Regions from separate parts of the Homo sapiens genome. Here region 2 is linked to region 1. Evidence: promoter capture Hi-C in human tissues and cell types (Jung and others, 2019). All regions are on one chromosome and are shown on one strand. The core of a region is centred on a gene start or on the middle of the fragment in contact, and the rest is flanking DNA. Distances in the headings are between cores, read along the strand shown. Region 1 holds the start of TBATA (thymus, brain and testes associated). Region 2 has its middle 30 kb from the start of PRF1.

Region 1 (3,568 bases), core at 557-3,056:
ATGCTGTATCACCCAGCAATTTCTTTCCCAGATATAAGAGAAATTCTTATAGATGTACAACAGGGGCTACTTATAAGAATATTCATACAAACACTGTTCAAAATAGCAAAAACCTGGTGGCAACCCAAATGTCTGATGGCAGAAGAATGGATAAATAAGCTGTGGTGCATTCAGACAATGGGATACTTTATTGCTATGAAAATAAATGAGCCACAGCTACATGTAACAACATGGATGAATCTTATAATCAGTATGAGAAAACTTAACAATTCTTGGTTTTGCGATGTTATATTTATGCAATCTTATTAACTCAATTTACTTTTTATTAATTACTATTAAATAGGCTGCAGTAGAACAAGATATATGCATTTGAAACAATACAATTGTTGTCATCCACTATATATAATGTGTGGATAATATAAAATAACTACTAAACAGTATAAATGTTGTTTAAAAACATATTATTTTTCTTTCATAAATGGTTTAGTTTATGTGTGTTCCAGAGGACCACAAGTTCCAGAGGACCACATAGCCTGAGATCCTTTCTAAAAATAAAAGTTTAAAAGCAAGCAAAATGATCATGAACATGCGATAAAACAGCAACAACAGCATCAAACAAGGAAATGCTAAGCACGAAATTCACATAGTGGCTATTTCCGAGGGAAGGCGGGGAGGGGAAGTGTGCAGGAGAAGCGCATATAAGGAGATGTGTTAGTGATGATGTTCTTGTTCTTGGTTTGGGTGGTGTATTTGCTTGTGTTTATTATATTATTAAATAAACTAATTAAATGGCATAGATGAAAGATGATAGGTGTCAAAACCAAGAATTATGATTAAATCTATGGACCTGAATATATATATCTAGCCAAAGTGCTAGGGATGGGGTTGGGACAGGACATCAGTGCATTCTGAGAATTAACCCTCAGAGTCACAGAATCTGCAAGGGACCCCAGAGATCTCCCAATGCCAGCCTTCATCAGGTAGTGGGATGGGTTGGAGTTGTCTGAGATCAGGGAAGCAGGGGAGATTTGCTGAGGTCACACAGAAGGAACCAGAGCCCGGGCAGTCTGACTCACAGTTTGCTGATCTTTTCTTTCCTTAAAAGGAAGCTCCAGACATCCTTGATGTCAGGTACTGGGCTCTAGAGTACTGAGATGCTACAATCTTGAGAACAGGATATGTGGAAGCCCCAAATCCTCCTGCCTATGGGAAAAAGTACTCTTTAGAACAGAGACTTGCAAATGTGTTTGGCTGTGATGACGGTAAGAAATTCTTTATGTCATGATCCAATTCACATATGGGTTTGTGTGTGTGTGTGAAACTAAAACAATAATATCCTGAAGCAATATTTATCCGTACTACATATGATGCACACTGATATTTTTACCCTATTTTTGGTTTTTATTTCTTAAATGTTAGATATGATCCATTTAAATTGATCTAATAAGCCACCAGGGGGTCATAACCCACAGCGGCTGTAGAGAGGCTGACAGGGACTCTAGTAGGCCAAGCCTGCCTTGTCCAGAGCGGGACAGGTGGGACCCCAGTGTAGTCTGCCCTGCCCTGCCCCTGCTCTCTGTCCCTGGGGCCCCAGCCAGCCAGGCAGAGGGGTCTGAGGGCTCCCATCAATCCAGCCACAAAACTTCCCTTTCTACCTCTGCCCTTCTGGGCTGTCCAGGGTCCATCTCCTCTCCCGAGAGGTCCCTGGACTCACCAAGGCAGTGCCCGCTACAGCATGTGTACGAGAAGCCCTGCTGTCCTAGCAGGAAGGAGCAAGAGGACAAATCGAGGGGAAGGCTGTGGGTTCTGTGGGCAAGTCTGCCTGCTTTGTGACACTGAGCCCAGTGGTTGCTAGGTTACCCTGTTCCCACAACTCCAGAACCTCTGCCCAGCACCCCTCTACCACATCCCCTGCCTATCTCCCCCTCCTGGAAGGGTAGACAAGGGCTAAGGACCTTCTGTCCCTCCTGACTTCCCTGCTGCCTCCCATCCAACACTTTCAATGGGGGCCAAGGGAGAGAAGGAGAGTCTGGGGCTGGTTTTAGCCAGAGAGAAGCGGATGGAGGCGGAACGCTGGCAGAGGACGTTGGTGGGCTGCGTCCCAGCTTCGTCAGCCCCACCTGGCCTGACCCCACCACACAGGGGTCGGCTTCCATGCATCTTGGTTCTGGGGACCCATTCTCAGGGAGGTGGGTCTTGGAAGGAGAGAAGATGGCAGCCCGCATTACCCAGAGGGACCCCAGCCCCTCTCTCTGCATGACAGCTGGGTGGGAAGATTCTGGGCTTGCATTTGGACAGGTGTTTTAATCAGATTTCAACATCCCATAGACACGTTACCTTGGGTAAGTCACCGGGACTGCCACAGATGCAAAATAGTGGGAAGAATCCTTGCTTCGAGTCCCTATTCTGCTACTTCCTAGTTGTGTGGCCTCAGACAATGCACCTGCCTTCTCTGAGCCTTAGTTCCCATATCTCTAAAATGGAGATGATGATACTGCACTTATTCTCACAGGATGTTTGAGAATATTAAGTGAGTTGATATATATTAAAGCGTTTCAAACAGTATCTGCCCCCAAGTATAATTTCTTACTATTATTGCCTTCTCTGGGTCTATAAAATGGGATATCCTCACCTACTTCTGTGGTTGTTCTGAAGACAAGCTAATGGAAGTGAAGCCTTTAGTTGTATGTCTGGCACACAAGAGATGCTCAAAAAGGATAATAATCATCATTATTATTGGTAACTTGATGGAGGTAGTAGGATGAGTCCTTTGTCTGAGAACTATCTTAGGTAGTTCACTATTTCTCTGAGGCTCAACTTGGACACCTGTCAAATGGGGGTAAGGATAGTTCTTAGCCGACAGGGCTGTAACTCAATCAGATCCCGGGAGGGGTGCAGACAGGCTCTGTAAACTATGGGAAGGCTTGCAGACAGTGCCGGGTGCTGTCCCTCAGAATGATGAGGTGGGCTTTTCCCAGGGCCTTTGCTCTCAGCACCCCTGGCTTCATACTGGTGCCCTGGGGCTTCCAGACTCTGTGTCTTTTCTCTGGGGAGCAAGAAAAGGAAGGTGGGTAGCTAGAGGCAAACCCAAGTCCTTCAAAAGTTCTGCCCCTCCCAGCTAAGGGGTGGGGATTCATACCACTCTGGTGGCCCCCTGAGGGCTGTCCTCTGGTCTTGGCCTACTCCAAATGCCCACCCATCCTTCGGCAGGTCAGGATGTTCCCTGGCTTTTTCTGGGCCTGTCTCTGCAGGAATACGGTGACTCTTTTGAAATCATACTGAAAACCCCCTCTTCCATACTTCTGGGCATCCTGGCAGCTGTGAAGATAGATGATATAGCATTTGGGAGAAGAGAGGCTTTCTTCCCCGTGACAAGCCACTCCTCCCTCCTGCTTTCAGCACTCTTGTGGCATTTCCCACCACGCGAGCTGACTCAGCTGAGATGAAAACCCACTCTCATCCTCCCCACTGGTGCCTTGTAATGCTTCAACTATGTTATTTACAATCGAGCATGGGGGTCTGCATAGGGACTGCAGCTGGGGGGATGAAGGGGTTCCTCAGGAAATGT
Region 2 (3,568 bases), core at 478-2,977, 210 kb before region 1:
CACGCATCACCACACCCAGCTAATTTTTGTATTTTTAATAGAGACAAGGTTTCGCCATGTTGGCCAGACTGGTCTCAAACTCCTGACCTCAGGTGATCCACCTGCTTTGGCCTCCCAAAGTGCTGGGATTACAGGTGTCAGCCACTGCGCCTGGCCACTAGTGATGTTTTGATACATTCTTTGTTATGTCTCTTTCTTAAATACCAGTACATATTGCTGAATTATAATATTAAAAAACGAGTTAATATACATGCAACCTTTAGGACAGTGCCTGACAGTGCCTGTGAGTATACAATCAGTTTTAGCTGACTTTGCCCAGTCTCTCTCTCCAAGCCCTGTGGGTGCTCAGAAGGAGTCCCCCATTGATCTACATGTGTGGTCACTGTCATGTGGCATCCTCATTGCTTCCAGGACTTCAGACATCCCTGACCCTACCCCCACCCCCATTTCAGGTGCCCAGGCTGTGCCGTGTCAGGCGGGACTTGACCTTGGGTCTGTGCCTACTTTTAACCAAGGATTTGGCCAGGTCCCTGGTTAAGCCTCCACCCTGTCTTCCCTGCTGCCCTGGTGGAGACCCGGTACCCCAGGCTAGCAGCCTTGATATGCCTGGCTCCCACTCCCTTAAGACATGTTCTCTCCTGGAAGCCCCTCAATCTTCTGGGGGTCCTGTCACACCAGTTTGCCCAGACTAGGCGGGCCTTAGCTGGGTCCACCTGGGACGTGCACCCCTTAGTGTCGTGATGACTGCCCTTAGTGTTCTGTGTATAAGGGGACATGTGCAAGGGGGAGGTCTGTGCATGTCAGCTGTGGGCAGTGATGCAGCAGATCACTGCAAAATTGGGCATCTACACAGACCAGGCACCATGCCAGGCACCAGGGAGCTGTGGACGGGGACAGCCTGCCTTCCAGGAGCTGGTGGCACTGCAAGGACAAGAGAGAATGAACAAATCATTTTCGCCAGGTGTCGTGAGAGCTAGGGTGGGGCAGGGTTTGGAGAACAGTGGCGGTGTGATAGGCCAGAACCAGCCAGGACGCCACTTGCCTCTCTTCTGGAGCTTCTAGAACAAGGAACCAGTGATGTTGTGGACCCAGGGGGAGCCAGGGGGCCTGTGGTGTCGGGTGGGACCACCGCACCCCGGAAACCATATAGCACTGATGGTCTGAGCTCTTCTTAATCTCTGCACCCTCTCTCCCATCCTTTAGCCAGACTTGAGATCTGGCCAGACCCTGAGAAGGGCCCATCCACAAAGGGCCTTTGGTTTCTCTACTTGTCACAAGAACTGGTTTTGGATGAACAGAAAGAATGAAGCCGCCCACCGGCCATCGCCTGCCTGGTCCTTTCTTGTGGTGTTCAGTGCGGAAACCTCAAATTGTATCTGCAGAATTGGCACGCATGTATTGTAACTGGTTTTCTCTTACAAAAAGCTGTTCGTCTTTTATTCACACAAGTACAGTGTAACCATCCACTAGTTGTGAAAATTCAACCAGTATCTTTATCTCCCTCCCTGTTCTCATTCCTACTCCCTGGGCTCTGGTTTTAAAAGGTATCACTGAGACCCGTGCAGCCCCGTGGGTGGTTGGGCCTTTCTCCTCTCTGTGCTGTCCCTGGCTGTGTGACATCCCCGCCTGCTTCTCTGGCCACCTAGTACTGTGTGCTACACACACCCCTTTCTGCTCAGCCAGCAAGCGTGGTTTCAGCATCCATCCATACAGTGAAGCAGTTCAAAAGAGCTTGGGTAAATCACACTGCCTCTCTGAGACACAATGTCCTCAATTGTAAGTGGGATTAAAATGCTTATTTTGGGCCGGACGTGGTGGCTCACGCCTGTAATCCCAGCACTTTGGGAGGCCGAGGTGAGTGAATCACCTGAGGTCAAGAGTTCGAGACCAGCCTGGATAACATGGTGAAACCCCATCTCTACTAAAACTACAAAAATTAACTGGGCATGGTGGTGGGTGCCTGTAATCCTTGCTACTCGGGAGATTGAGGCAGGAGAATCACTTGAACCTGGGAGGCGGAGGTTGCAGCTAGCCGAGATCACGCCACTGCACTCCAGCCTGTGAGACAGAGTGAGATGCCATCTCAAAAAAAAAAAAAAAAAAAAGAAAAAGAAAAAAGTGCTTATTTTGTAGGGTAAGTGGAAGGATCAGAGTTAATGGCCATGAAGTTCCTATTGCTGGGCCTTACACACAGCAGGTACTCACTGCAAGAATTGTCTTGTTCTGTAGAGTATGTTATTAGGAGCCCTGGAGCAGAAGAGTCCATCTGAGGAGTATCTGAGTTAGTGGTATGGAAGTGACATTACTCATGAGTGATGGCAGGGGGTCAGGGGCAGAGGGCACCACTGGCTCTCGGAATGCAGCACCTCAGCTTGGGTGTCCTCTGGCACTAGAGGAGCCAGTAAGAGGCATGAAGGCATTTCTTAGTATTTCTTGGGGGAAGCCATGCAGAATTCTCTAAAGATGAGAGCAGAGGTGGGGTTGGTGGGCCAGGGAGAGTCGTTGGGAAGGACTAACTTGGTTTCCCAGAGGAAGCCAACAGCGGGAGAACCCTTGGCACATCGGCCCTGGGAGAGTGTAGCAGGAATTTCCATAAATGTGTTCGGTTGGGTTAGGGCAGACAGCCTGGCTTCCAGAAAACCTGCCTGCTTTGCATTGCCCAGTACAGCAGGTTTGGGACAGGAAGCTCCAGAGTGACTTTAATTCTAGAGCCTGCTGGGGACCTTGGCCAGTCACTGCCTTCTCTGGGTGGCGTCCCTTCCTTGGCAATAGCAGACTGATCCTTCCCCCTCTTGCCTCTACGTAGCCTGAGGGAAAAGGAGAAAAAGCACTTCTCCCTCTCCACCTTGGCCTAAAGGAGGGCAGGGCAGATGCCAGGGTCTGTTGCGCACTGACTGCGTGCTGAGGCCTGCACTAAGTTCTTTACACACAACATTGAAAATGGGCTAATTCCATCAGGTCTACCTGCCCTGCTTGCTTTGGGTTGCTTTTTTAATTCTCCCCCTCCCAAGCTTTTTCTATGAAGCTGAAGGCTGTGGTAGCTGAAGGCCTCACCGCTGAACACTGGAACTTAACCTTCACTGGCTACTTTATAGATAACATTCATAGGTCACCATGGTAATATTCACTTCAGTGTTTTTCAGGAACTTGGCCAGCGCCTGTCTAGTTCAAACTAGCTGAGACCCCGATCCTTCACCCTAGACTGCCCAAGTGCCCAAGGGGTGGCCTTTTGAAGTCAGAGGGCCGACGACAACACCCTCAGATCATGCAAATGCCACCATTTTTGTTGCATGTGCCCTGTGAAGTGCCGTGAAGCCTGACTACCCTTGCTCAGGAGGAACCTGTCACTTCATTTTTTTCCCACTGCCAATCACCTGTCCCCATGATTTAGATCATCCCACTTCCCTTACCTGTAAATATCCTTAAGCCTTATCCTCAAGGGTCGGGTGGGGGTGGTTTTGAGAGCTGTTCTCCCACCTCCTCATGTATTGCCCTTGCAAATCTTTCTCTTTTGCAAAACCCATGTCATCATGATTTATTCACTGTGCAGAGGCAGAATGAACCTGGA

The links. The method cuts DNA at HindIII sites, captures the fragments that hold promoters and counts their contacts. A contact is called where the count stands out against the background at its distance.
Region 2: a fragment that was not itself captured here is called in contact with the fragment with the promoter of TBATA in region 1 in 2 of the 25 tissues and cell types used here (IMR-90 fibroblasts and dorsolateral prefrontal cortex).

The regions. Positions count from the first base shown.
Region 1 is chr10:70,783,571-70,787,138 of GRCh38, forward strand. It overlaps TBATA (thymus, brain and testes associated), which reads right to left and starts at 1,807. Exons shown (of 11, transcript NM_001318241.2): 1 at 1,715-1,807; 2 at 1,077-1,203. The HindIII fragment of the contact is 18,774 bases long and covers 1-3,568 here.
Region 2 is chr10:70,570,937-70,574,504 of GRCh38, forward strand. No RefSeq gene overlaps it. Among named protein-coding and RNA genes, the nearest start is that of PRF1, 30 kb to the right of the region's middle. The HindIII fragment of the contact is 5,511 bases long and covers 1-3,568 here.